Linked DNA regions of Homo sapiens: regions 1, 2 and 3 are each linked to region 4. The links are contacts of gene promoters, found by promoter capture Hi-C in blood cells and fetal thymus (Javierre and others, 2016). All regions are on one chromosome and are shown on one strand. The core of a region is centred on a gene start or on the middle of the fragment in contact, and the rest is flanking DNA. Distances in the headings are between cores, read along the strand shown.

Region 1 (3,470 bases), core at 417-2,916, 2.5 Mb before region 4:
GGAATAGACAATGTGAGTAGAGGGTGCTAAGTTTTGTCTAGAAGGTGCTCTCACAGTTCAGCTTTCATTTTCAGGAAACATAAGAACAAAGGAAAGATGTTACTGCCAGAGCTTGAGGAAGGAGCTGTTTCATGGTATGTTGACAGTAATTTAATCATGAAAGGTTATCTTCTAGACTAGCACTCAAATTTCCTTAGTCTTTCCTGATGATCAAGGGCATTCTTTGTTAAGTCTAATGTGCTGGCCCTCAAAGTTGCCTAGTATGCAAGGAAGCTGTCAATCATATACTTTAAAAAATGAACAGCAGAAGGGTTCTAAAGGGAAATCAAATTATGGTCCATTTGGAAATGTCACAATCAAGTGGTACTAGCAAAACTGAAGAGGTTCATTGACCATTCAAATTGATATATAAAGAATTACGTGTTTTTGCTGCTAATCAAAGATAAAGCTGCCTATGTGGAGCCTGAGCCCACTCAGGCTTTAGCTAATGTTAGTGTTTACATGACATGTTGGAAAAAAACTGGGCAATTACAAAGGCCCAGTCTAACTAGATCCTAACAGGCAAAATGCCCTCTGATCCAAATGTTAATAGCTTTGACCTTCATTGGTTTTTAATCTCATTCTGTCTAGCAGAGTAAATGAACCCTAGATTACACTGTACAGAAGAGTCTTTTCTGTTTTTCATTCAGTTTATTTTTATGTTTTTTCTGTTATTGCGGGGAAATTGAAAGTCTGTCTTTTTTCAGTTGGGTATATCACTGAGTGTATGCACAGAGAGGCTGCTGATTGACAGTGCTTCGACAAAGGCAGATTCAGTTTGCGGCTGATAAGGAGCAAAGTCATCCATGCCGTGTTTACAAAGTAGGCAAGGAGAGTAAAAAATTAGTGATAAAAGAGCTAATCTCATTGTTTTGCTGGATGAGAGAATGGCACTTTTGTGCTTGCTTTAAGAGGTGCTGGCGTGTTGCCCCTCCTTCCCCCTATATGCTTTGGCGGCAAAACAATTTCCAGATTCCCCAAAGTGTTATAGATTATAAAGGACACAGTAATGCTGGAAGGGTTTCCTGCTGTTGAGAAGGGTGCAAGCTGCACTGGAGATTGGCTGTTTATTCTATGTACTCATGACCCATACTGCATAAACTACTGATTTTCTCCCTCTGGTGTTTCTAAAGCAAAAGATAAATATTTGGGATGTCAGATTAATTCATCAGTGTTTAATTTTCCAACATATTTAAATACTTAGTTGTGCTAAGAATAAAGTTTGACACTCCTTTATGACAGGTCACAACTGGGTATAGGTTCTGGCTGTGGTAACTGGGCCTCTTTGAGTAACAGGCCAAGCAGCTGAAGGAATAGATCAGAGGAGAGGGCTGCACTTTTGTTCTTAGGGCATCAGTGTTTTGTTAGTTCATGACTACTTTGTTATAAGCCCTATAAGCATGGAAGAAATAGTAGTGTATAGTGGCTCTTGGCACAAACACAGTTTAAAAATTATTGTGTCTGCATCTAAAGTGTTCTGGTTATATAACTTCATCCTCTACTCAGTTTTTCTAAAGGAAAGGTAAGAGATGATGGATCAGCCAGAGGGATATCCCAGGTTTTACCATGTCTCATACTGCTGATATCTGCATTTAGTGGTGACCAACAAAAAAGTATAATGGTGGCAGCCACGTGTTTATTCCAGGTGATCTGAATCATTGACTCTTTCATTCATTTATTCAACACCATGTTCATGCAAACCTTCAATGGGCCAGGTGCTGGAGCTACTGATGGGAACAAAACATGGATCACAACCTAAGGGAGTTTCTAATCTTGTAGGGAAGATAGCAAAGTAGACAAATCATTACTGTACAGTATACTGCATTTTATGCTAGAGATGCTTACAGGGCACAGGAGAAGTGCTCCTCAGGAAGGCAAGGAAGGCTCCCAATAGATGATAGTTAATGGTATCTTGAAGAGTGTGTAGGAATGAGTCAGGAAATATACAACTCAGAATAACCAGAGCACTTCTTCTCAAGCTGTCAGACAAACTTGTGTTACAGGAGTATGTAAGGCCACAGAATAGATGTGACCTTATTTACCCCCCAAAATTTACTTTTTATTGGTTTGACAAATATTTATTGACGACCTAATCTGTGCTAGGCACTCTAACAGACATCAGGGATAGTTAATAAATTAGACAATCTTAAAACTCATGGATTTTCAATTCTTGGGAAATATATCTCAAAATATTTGAATATGTTATTGAAAAGAATGTAAAAATTTATGCAACCAAGCATGAGTATTTCATATAAATTTTGTGCTTGCAAGAGCAGTTTTGGCAATGCCCTTAGACCCCAAGATAATGTGTTCATTTTATTCTAGAGTTGGGATACTGTGTTGAAAGACTGAGGAGTGCTTGTAAGGTATATGTGAGGAACTGAGTGTGAGACATGGGATTGGGGAAGTAGGTAAGCACTAAACCAATAAGTTTGCATTTTCTATTAAAATAAATGATGCACTATAAGAGGATTTGAAGCAGGAAAGGCACGATCAGTTTAGGGTTTTAGAAGGATCACTCTGGTGGCAAGTACTCATAGGTCTGTCTGAGATAATGCTTTAAAAATATAGTCCCTATCACTGTTTTGCATTTTTCTCTGCCTGTATTGAATCATTTGAATGGTTTTCATTAATGTCCAAATAGCTAAAGCTAAGGACCTGCACTTAACTACCTGCAAACACACAGTGCACGGACAAGGGGATTTACCTTTGTGGAATTTCTCTTAAAGTTGAAGTTGCCAAAAGCATAAATTGAACCTAAAATTTGGGACCACCTTTATTCATACTCTGAATTGATTTAACTTTCTCTTTAAAATACCTCAAATATTTTACATATACTAGGTAATCTGTTTTTCAGAGAGAGAGTGGTTGCAAATAGCCAAAACCCATTCAAACTAGCTCAAGCTGCAAGGAAAAATATATTGAATTATTAGAAGGGCAAACAATGTAACCAGAACTTAGACCTATAGCCAGAATATAGAAGGAGAATAAGTCTAAGACCAAGGGAGCTACTGTTTTTCCGGGTCTCTCTGATGCATGTTGGATACTAGCTTAATTCTTTGTTATTTCTGCAGCAAGTTGTTTTTTCTTATTCATCTGATTTTTTAAAATGAGCACATGTATAAAATGTCCACACCAAGCTGTGTCCTTTTAGTTTAAGAATCACCAGAGACTACATAATTTTAGTTTTTACAGAGAGAGAACTGGACTGGCTAGTTTGAGTATGGTGACTACTCCTGGTAAAGTCAGCTGTGATTGGGAAGAGGTCCTGCAGCTCAGCCGCCATTCACTGGGGCTGTGTAAACAGACTCTGAATTCTCAGGGGTGTAGAGAAGTTCTATTAGGAGAGGGGTTGGGGCAGACTACAGTGATTAGATGAGGTAGTGACTAATCTCTAGCAACTTCCACAAAGAAAGCTTGGCAAGTCCCCA
Region 2 (3,072 bases), core at 432-2,931, 2.5 Mb before region 4:
CAACACTATAATTTTTCTCATAGGCTTTGTTTAATCTTAAAAATCCAATAAGCAATATAAAAACAGAGATATAAAGACTCATTACACTATATGGACCCACCGGAAAGTCAATAAGCAATCAACTTACTGAGCCCTCTGAGATATGATATTTTTAAATGCAGTAATGTGAATGGTGAAAATTTTTTGGAGGTTAGATCAGTTTAATTCTGGTTTGTATGGATATTGCACAGAATAGATACTGCTATTGTTGTCATCTTTTCACTTCAGTCTGTAAAGTAAGAATTCCATCATCTGCCAGAATTACCAAAATCAGGATGTTTCTCCTTATGTATAAATGTGTGTGCACGTGTACATATATGAGCATATGTATACTAACACATGCAGTTGTGCAAGAAATGTCATATTATCTTTCTGTATTATTCTGTATTTTTCTGTATTATTTTTCTGTTATCCTGAGTGCCCACCACACCAGGGTGGCAGGGAATTTAGTCTCCTTCGTTACTATGTCTCCCTTCCTGGGAAGATTGATACAAAAGCCCGGAATTTTATTATGTTGGTGCAAAAGTAGCTGCAGTTTTTGCCATTAAAGCAATGGCAAAAACAGCAATTACTTTTGCACCAACCTAATATATGCAGTAGTATGTTCACAGACCGCCCTCTTGTTTTCAGGTCACAGTGGTCACACTGATGTCATTATGGTTCTCAAAAAATGGTGGTTCTTCTTGTTCCAGGCCAGGTTGGTTTCAGAAATATTTGCTGAGCCTGAGAACTCCAAACCAGCTTCACTTGGGGCACCACAAAGCAATTGCTTTCTGTGGTCCTGAGATGTTCCTGGGACACACTGTGGAGAAAGACACAGGCCCTGCTATTCTCCACTTTCTACCTGACCTTGAAAAGTCTTTGAGAAAGTCCTTTATGAATTTAAGCATTTGAAACCAAAGCCAGGGGGTGGCCCAGGGATGTTTTAGTCAACTTTTGCTTTCAGCCCTAAAACACAGGACACAACTCTGACTGGGAAAAGGACAAACGCAGTAAGAATTAACTTAAAAATGTCAAAGATTACCCAACCTACATGTGTTCATTTTTGCAAGGGAGATGCATATAATAATAATTAAAGAATGATGAAAATTATAGCAGGTAGGAAAACCCAGCACCTGCATGCTTTCCATAGGCCAGCCCACAATGACACTGAGAGATTAACAGGTGCTATCTCATTTTCTCCTCATGGCCCCGAAAGGCAGGCACTATTGTCCTTACCTTAAGGATAAGGAGATTGTAGATTTCGAAAGGTTAAGTAGCTTGTTCAAGGTCCTACAAGTCCTCTGTAGGGGGCTAGAATTGGTCAGTGTCTGGGGCTCCGCTCTCAACCCTATGCTCAGCTTTTGCGTCTCATAGGAATCGCTCTTAAAGCTTTTCACTAAGATAGACGTCCATCTGTCTGCTCCAAAGCAACAGGAGAGAACTTGAGGAGCATGCTTTTTTTTTTTTTTTTTTTTTTTTTTTTTGCCACCAAAGTTCTTTTGGTGCACATTTCCAGTAGATTGCACATCTCCTGAAGGTCTGTTAAAGGTGGTCAGAATACAACAATGAATTCAGAATAAAATTGATTTAAAGACTTGTTTACATAGCTGATATTGAAACATGGGCTCTAAGGTAGATATATTTTCCAACATGAAACCGAATGTACTATTCTTGCTTTTATCTTCATGTCTACATGTTTTCTCAGTCTAGATCAAGTTTTTAGCCCTGTGAGGACTTATGTAAGACATTTAACGTCAGTTTTAACATTAGACGACTTAGTTATAAATTTGTTTTGTAGATAAAACACTATGCATAATTTTGTAATTTTTCTCTTTAGGCTAATGAATGAAAAAACAAGCTGTAGCCTAAATCTACCAATGTCAATAAAAACTAATTTACTATCCTTCTGCTTTGCCACCTCAAGTACTTTTCAAAGCTTTCAAATTATACTGAATTTAATATACATACATATAAATGTACATACATGTATATATACATATATATGCACATATATATATATAAATAGGTAAATGTGTTTGCTTTCCTTGGCATGTTTCAATATATACATGATATTATAATATCATTATTAATTTCAATGTAATTTCAATGATACATTATCTAATAGCTATGACTATTTATGACCCACACTATTCTAATGGGTATTGAGCACATTTTGATGAAATATACTGTATACCCTGAAAGTGGTCTTTTGTCCTGTTGTGGGATAGCCATCTATGACAGGCTGGAATTAGCTTGGGATTTTTGTTAGGCACTTTACCTGTAGGCCAGCAAAAATCCTGACCAACTACCAGAAGGGGCTTTCATTCACTCTCTCATTCTGGTGTTGATGGCAGTTGCCGGCCATCTGGAGCCGTCACTGCCATCACGCTGGCTGCAGCCGGGAAGGCGTGGGCAGTGGCAGCAGGGGTGGCTGCAGGAGCAGCAATGGCAGTGGTTGGTCCCCTGTGCCCCACATCCCCGATGCAGCTGACTGAGCCGCCCCTACCCTCGCACGGTGGGGCGGGATTTGCTCCCAGGCCTGGACCCTCTGCTGCTTCGGACCCTGGCCCCATGTTGCTGCTCTCCCCGGCTGCTGCTGCGGGGAGGGTGCAGCGAGGAGGCAGAGCTGGGCCCAGGGTGGTGCTGCGCTCCATGGAGCCAGCGGGAGCCGGGGACAAGCGAGAGCCATCCCCTAGGAGCCCACCGCCCCCGGAAGCCGCCGCAATGAGGCCAGGCGGAGCCGCCTATTAGCGCGGGAGCAGCAAGGTAGGGCATGGAGGGGCGGGCAGAGAGGGCCTAAGAGAGAACCTGGAGCTCCTGCCCCAGGCTGGAGGAGGTGTAGCCAGGGCTGCCCGCATGCTCCACTGAGCTGATGGGAGTTCTGCCTTCCCAGGCACAGGACCCGGGCGTCTCTGCAGTCTGCACCCATGAGTGCCTGGGAAGGCCCCCCTTTCCCATGCAGGCTGGGGAGTGTCTTCTCCCGCCGCCTGGCCTCTCCCTAATCCTGGTGCCCTGTCCAATCTCAGAGTGGGGTTGGGGCTGAGCCCAGTC
Region 3 (3,344 bases), core at 505-3,004, 2.3 Mb before region 4:
TTCTCTAAAAACCACAAACTTCAGTGCACCAGAAGGTCAAAGTCCAAACAATATTTTATTTCTTCTTTTTCATTTTTCTTTGCTTTACGTATGTGGTATTAGCCTTTCGTATGTAATAGCTAACTCATTTAGTTGGGATATTCTGTAAGAGACTAGTGGAATTTATTAGTGATGGATTGAATAATGGTAGACTAAAGTTATAATTATAGGTAGAGTGTACCCGAGGAGCTGGTAGACTTCAGGGTATACAAGTTCTGCTCTGTGCATACCATACCCAGCAAGCTACTCTGTGTCAGTTTAAGGATTTTCTCCATCAACCATGGACATTCTTATCCCAGGTTTTCTGCAAGTGCATTTTTTTCCCTTTCTGCCTTTCTCCAAGGCATGACAACCTTGTGTGTTTACTAGATCACAAATAATTCATGTCCTAGTTGAGCCATGTCAATCTCAGCCTAAGTCCACTAGTCAATGCCAAATGGCCATGGAAGGGATGTCAGAGGAAAGGGATATAAAGGAACTGGGTCACTTGGTAACCACATCCCATCTCCTCCTGTTGGTTACTGACAGCCTGTGGCTGCAACTTGCACTGAGATGCAATAGTGGAGTGCTTTTCAGCCTTTAATGTGCATGGAAACATCCAGGAATCTTGTTAATCTTCAAATTCTGCTTCAGTAGGTCTAGGGTGGGGCCTGAGATTTTGCATTTCTAACAAGATCTCTGGGGGTGCTGATGCTGCTGGGCCACAGGCCACACTTTGATTAGTGAGCAGTTAGAGGACTTATTGGTGTGGGAGGCTCTTAAACATTCCAATGAGACTCAGGCTGCAGTAATAGTACAGGGCCTAATATGTATAACAAAGAAATATTGTCTTTTAACGGCGTACCCCTGGCCTATCCCCTGGGATCTAGCATAAAATGATTTCATTATATTTATCAAATATTCTCTGCAAAACATATTGCTATAAAAATCAGTTAAGCGTTTGTGACCAAATAGAAGAAATAAAGAGCTATAATTGTCTAAAGAGTGATACATGAGAAATTCACCAGAGCTATCTGGTGCACAGGATCTTATAGCCTCTTTCATCCATCAAAGGTTTTTCTCCACAGATGTCAGCCAGGAGGTTATCTGTATCGTAAACACTATGCAAAGCTTTCTGGATCCTTTCTCTGGGACAGGTTGCCTCCATTGACTATGTTATCAATCAGGGCATAAACCACAGCCTTAATGTTATCTGAGACTCAGAAGTTCACCCTGGCACACTAACTGCTGGGGAATTATGAGTCGTGGGATTGCTCTAACACAGAGAGTATTGTGCTGTGAAGATTATGGAATCTTATTAGAAAAGGCTCTGCCCCAGATATGCAGCAGTTAAAATCAGAGTATTTCTTTAGATACCATAGGGAAGATGAAAAATGTTGGAACCTGTTTATATTGTCTCATATGTACTCCCAGGATGCAGAGCCAGCAGCAGGAGCTGCAGCAGCCCTTACTTATTAGTACAAATTTCCCCTTTGAAGGGTTATTTAAAAATATTTGTACATATTTCAAATCCCTCAATCTGGTTTGTGGCAAATGGTTGCTTAAATAACTTCTTAATTATTTTGTTCTAGTTTTTGCAGAAGGTCTGTTGCAGATATTTAGCACAAAGCTTAGATTGTTGAGGCCTTTACCTACCTCCTCAATAGATTTCAGGAAAATAAAATAAAGGGCTGCTAAATTGTTACTCTCTTTATGTAGTATGCACAAATAGAATGGATTGTGGACCTCAGTACAGGAAAGACATACTTGCACAACTGCATGGTAATAATTTTTATGTATGTTAAAATTATGTTCTTGCTATTTTGTCATAATATTCCAGAGTGAAGCTTTAGAAGAATGACATGCTTATAATAGCTGTAAACAGAGTCGCTTTGCAGATCTCAGGTAGCAAATTATCTCATGAACTTGTAGATAAAATGTAAGCAAAATTATTTGAAATTAATGGTAGATAAATAGAAACGAATTAAAGCCAATGTTATTTTGCAGTAAAATCAGGTAGAATCACTCGTTGAAGGAGACTCGTGAGTCACCAAACTTGGACTTAAGCAAATTTTGATGAGCAAATGTATGCCAAGTCTTGGTTTCTGCACCTATGTTTGAGTGGCTGGAAAGACACACATCAAGTATGGAGGGATGCTGGCTTGTGGAATTTATGGACTAAGGGTGTATGAAATCCTGAATGATCCTGAACTATCATGTGGTCAATTTGTTCCTTGTAGCTATACTGAAGATGAGATGGTGTCATACCCTAATTGATCCTGTGGTGGCTGGTTTGAAGCAGCTGGGCTAGGTACCTAGAGACAACCTCAGTCCTGTGTCCCTACTTTTCTAATTATTTATGTAACCTGCTGTATTTTATTCTATATATTTACACATGAATGTGTATGTGTGTAAGATATATATGTATCTGTTTCATAAGCATAGGAAATACAGTAATTGCTGAGCTCTCCTCCTACACCAGATTATATAAGAAACAACCAGTTGGGAAACATCATAATGCTGAGCTTCACTTACTCTCTCAGCCTTTTTTCACCTGCCATTGTGTATCTTGGGTAAATATGACTCATCACAAAGAAACCTGAGTATTAGAATTTAGGAAAAAATCCAGTTTGGGCGATTGCAGTGTCAGAATTTGGATTCTTCTGATTATGATTATGTTGAGTGGTCCTTTCAACAGATTAAGGGTGCTTTCTGGTAAATTAAGTTTTCAGGGCAAAATAAGGTGAGGTGACATATGAATATGCATATATGTATGTGTGTTTATGTGTGTATATGTATAAATTTGTGTGTGTGCATTTATATATACATCTTCATCACACCACATGAACCATTTGGAAACTATCCTGCTGAGGGTGAGAGCCTATGTGATGTAACTTCCTCAGTTTAGGAAGAAGGGAAATATCAAGGAAAGTAAAGAAAAATGAGACACCACTCCAAGATAACATTGTTTTACAATAAAATCCATAATCTCCACCCCATGAAGATCATGTTGTGGACACTGTTTTGGCAATGAAAATAATAGGTACATGTCAAAACACTTCAAATGGCCACCATCCGTAGACATCAGCTTTATACAAAACATCACATGGTCATTGAATGAACAGTGTTCACCTACACTTCATTTTAAGGAAATGAAATGAAATCCCTAACCCCAGACCCATAGACAGAGAGTTCAGCCAGGCCCAGTAAAAGATACGATTTAGTCTAAGCAGACCATGGCCTCAGGCAGCCTACCACCTGCATAAGCTTAATAAAACAAAAAGCAAAAATAACAGAGCTTGGAGGTTAAATAACACAAATAGATC
Region 4 (3,449 bases), core at 784-3,283:
AAAGAGAACTAGACATTCTGGCTGCAGGAACCTCTCCCCCTAGTGATGCAGTTATTTATAGCCCAAACTCCAGCCCGAGTCTGCGTGTGTTCGCGCGCGGGGTTTCGCCGCGGCGGTGCAAACTTTTCCTCTGGTCCGCTATTCCAGAGGAATCACAGTATGCCAGGGCTGAAGGTTTCTGATCGCTAACGTCAGGGGAGTAGAAATGTGGTTTTGGAGGGGATGAGCGTGCGTTTCTAGCAGATGTCCGTCCTTCTGCAAACGCGTAACCGCCAGCTTGGAGGCACGGGGTTCTCTGAATGGGTTCAGCATCTATACAGGTTGCAGATGTGGAAAGTGGGGTCAGAAGGTCAGGCTGAAAGAAGGACTAGAATTTGGCGCCGGGTTTGAGGGGGGCTTGAGCGAACTAAGAGGAGTGCACGATGAGAATAAAGAAAAGGTGCACTAAGTTTTCAGAAATAGATGAATCAAGGACCTATATGTAAGTCCCCTCAACACCCCGCCCGATAACCACCATGACCTAAATTTCATAACAGATTCCTCTCCCTCTACACATCAGGAATAAGTAATTATTTCTCTTCTGCTTTTAACAGATCGAAAAATGAAACTTAGATACACAGCCTGAAAGACCAGGGGGGCGACGGGATGAGGGGGGTTGGGGATGGGATTGTGACACTGCTCAAAAGCAAGAGACTTCCATTGACAGGGTTTATTTTTCCCCAGCTCCAACTACAGGCACCGAAAGGTATTTTACCTTCTGTCAAAGGTTCAAAGAAGGAAAACATAACCATATACAGGCGTATCTGTAACAGCTTGCCAAATAAAACCTGCCTTCTCCTACCAGAACCAACCCTCAGGGTTCAGGTCTTTGGCAAGGATTGGGCACTCGGATTCCTCAATTGCTGCACTATGGGGCAAATAATTGGGGACTTTGAGTCGCCCAGGCGGCATCCTTACAAATTGCACAGCTCCAGCCCGCCCCCTGCCTCCACGGCCCGACCAAGCCCGCTGGGCTGCCGCTGCCCCCATGACCGCTGGGCCCGACGCGCAGCGCGCGCTGAATGGAGACATCCCCGGCCCTCGGGTCGCGCGCCGCACGCCGCGCTTCACCTCCGCGGCGTTATTGTTCCGTGCTGGCGGCCGAGCGCCAACCGCAGGACCGCGCCGCCGCCTCCGACGCAGTGAGCACTTCATTAGTAACCCGAGCTTTCCGAGCTCATCGAAGTCTCGGTCCCTCTGGGAAGGCTCCGGGCTCCCGCCACTCGCCGGCGGGCTGGCGGAGACGGTAGGGGCTGCATTTCCCAGTCTCCAACCCAACTCTGGCCGCAGCTCCCACAGAAGGCGAATAAGGAGACAAGGAAGACCGAGCTAGAGAGAGATGTGACCCGCCTGAGGTACTAAGAAATAAGCTCGCCGGCAGTTCCTCCAACCCCACCCCACCCCCGTTGCTGCTCACGCCCTCCAGACTGCCCGCGCCAGAAATCCCGCACCCGTCGGATGGACGGCTCCGGGCACAGGGCTGTAGGCGGCTCGGAACAGCCCTGGTTCGCGCTCGCTGGTCCGCCAGGAGCGGCCTCAGCGGTGAGGGGGCGGGGAGCCGGCGGGGGAGGGTCGCCCGGCGCCGGAGGCGCGGCCGGCAGCGCCGCGGACGAGCTGGCTTGTGCAGGTAGACATCTAAATAAATAAGTCAGAACAAACTTTGCTTTCCCATCACCTTACCTTCCTTCGCAGCCTGCGCCTCCCCTGTGTGTGCAAAGCGGAGCAGCCAGATGTAGCATAAAATAATCCATGAAGGGTACCGAGTTTGAAAAACCATGGTGCATGAGCAGGTTTTATTTTAGGTTTCAGTTATCTTGAGTCGTGGATTTTTAAATGCTGTTTGTTCCGAAGTAGCTTTTGTTTTATTGTGCTCCTTGCATCGATTCCCCTTCTCGGTCCCCGATCGGCTGCTCCACGTTTAGCTTTTTTTAATTTCCCCCCCACTCCTGTTCGCTCGCACCGTGTTTGCTGCCTGCAAGTCTCCGACTGCAGACCGGCCGCTTGCTCCACACTCCAATAATATCAATTAGGGGGGGAGGGGGCGGGGCTCCGAGCTGAGAGCCTCCGCCACTCGGGCTGAGTGGCAGGCACAGCCGGCCTGCCAGGAGGCGATTCCCAGGGCCAAGGGGCGGGTCCCGGCGAAATGGCCGCCCCGGCCACGGGGGCGGGGTCCGAGGCAGGAGCCAATCGGTGCCGAGCGGAGTCAGGTTGCTGGTCCAGGATTCCCTCCAGGTTCTGAGCTCGCGCTGGATGTTCAGAGGAGAACGAGGATGGTAGCCGAGGTGTGTGCTGCTTTGGACGCTCTGCTTTTAGCAACCGCAGCTTTCGCGTAGCAGAATAAATCCGAGAATAACGCTCCCAACTTACACTCTTTTCTATAGCTGTACTCCGCGCGATCTTTTAGAAACCAGAGGCGAAGCAAGCCTTCTCTCAGCTACCAAGCACGGAGCCCGGACAGTGAAATGAGCTGTGCCTTTAAGTAAAGTGTGTTTTACTTTTTTGTTGTTAGAACCTCCGCGGGCTGGGTAACTTTGTTTTTTGCCTTTTTGAAAAGTTTCTACTTCTCTTTTTCTGTTACTCCAAGAGCCGTCAGTTTTAGGTACCACCCACCACAATCCCTGAAAGAATAAAGTAACCAAGTGTATTATGTTTAAACAATGTTTCCAAGAGTTTGCAACAAGCTCTGGCAAAAGAAACAGAGGAAAAGGGAGTGGGAAAGGAAGTCTTTTGTTTTAAGCGCCCCTTCTCCTCCGCCCTGTCTTTTCACCATAGTTTGTTGAGCGAAGTGAGACATTAGGAGAGAACCTTCTGATGGTTGCGTATCGTTTTTTTACGCGTTTATCATTTTCTAAGGTTTTCCTTGGATTGCCTCCACTTTGATAGTTTTCCATTTCGCTGCATAAATTACACTGAATTTTAAAGAATGCCACTACGTATTAAATTCATAAAGCAAGACCTTTCTCTTCGCAAGTATTTACCATTTTCAGGAATTATTCAATGCTTATCTTTCAAAGAGAAACTAAGAATAAAAAAAGTCATAACCAATATCTCCAGTTGAATTCATTCAACCCGAACGGCAAGGAAGGCTGCGTAGAGAAATCTGTTTTCCATTAGGCAGTTTCGGACACTTTGTATTCAAGAGGTAGGTAATAAGAGGAAGAACTTTAAAATTTTAATTGCCAAATCTTCAATTTCAAAGGTCACACAGAGTAACTTGATCACATGTTTAAGATGAATTTCTTTTTTTGTCCTATAATTTCTTCCTTTAAAAATATTTCTCAGTCATTTATGATTTCCTTTTATTTCCGATAGATCCAAAGTTTGATCTCACATAAGGCTCCAAACTTTTTCCAACCTTTCTATCTGGAAATATAAAGTAAATTGAGTTGTTTCTGCTTTTTATAGTAGGG

Evidence for each region. Contacts are between HindIII fragments. The CHiCAGO score rates a contact against its expected background, and 5 or more counts as called.
Region 1: a fragment that was not itself captured here is called in contact with the fragment with the promoter of EPHA7 in region 4 in 1 of 17 cell types (M2 macrophages); the score reaches 5.1 in M2 macrophages.
Region 2: a contact is called between a fragment that was not itself captured here and the fragment with the promoter of EPHA7 in region 4, in 1 of 17 cell types (M0 macrophages). The highest score is 5.1, in M0 macrophages.
Region 3: a fragment that was not itself captured here is called in contact with the fragment with the promoter of EPHA7 in region 4 in 2 of 17 cell types (M2 macrophages and M0 macrophages); the score reaches 13.5 in M2 macrophages.

Annotation. Positions count from the first base shown.
Region 1 is chr6:90,924,912-90,928,381 of GRCh38, forward strand. All of the region lies in intron 3 of LOC107986623 (a long non-coding RNA gene), which reads left to right. Among named protein-coding and RNA genes, the nearest start is that of MAP3K7, 340 kb to the left of the region's middle. The HindIII fragment of the contact is 3,573 bases long and covers 1-3,453 here.
Region 2 is chr6:90,944,659-90,947,730 of GRCh38, forward strand. The region is part of intron 3 of LOC107986623 (a long non-coding RNA gene); the gene reads left to right. Among named protein-coding and RNA genes, the nearest start is that of MAP3K7, 360 kb to the left of the region's middle. The HindIII fragment of the contact is 547 bases long and covers 1,409-1,955 here.
Region 3 is chr6:91,074,610-91,077,953 of GRCh38, forward strand. No RefSeq gene overlaps it. Among named protein-coding and RNA genes, the nearest start is that of MIR4643, 450 kb to the right of the region's middle. The HindIII fragment of the contact is 217 bases long and covers 1,647-1,863 here.
Region 4 is chr6:93,417,526-93,420,974 of GRCh38, forward strand. It overlaps EPHA7 (EPH receptor A7), which reads right to left and starts at 2,034. Exons shown (of 17, transcript NM_004440.4): 1 at 1,720-2,034. The coding sequence starts at 1,816. RefSeq lists a silencer at 2,082-2,281. The HindIII fragment of the contact is 10,467 bases long and covers 1-3,449 here.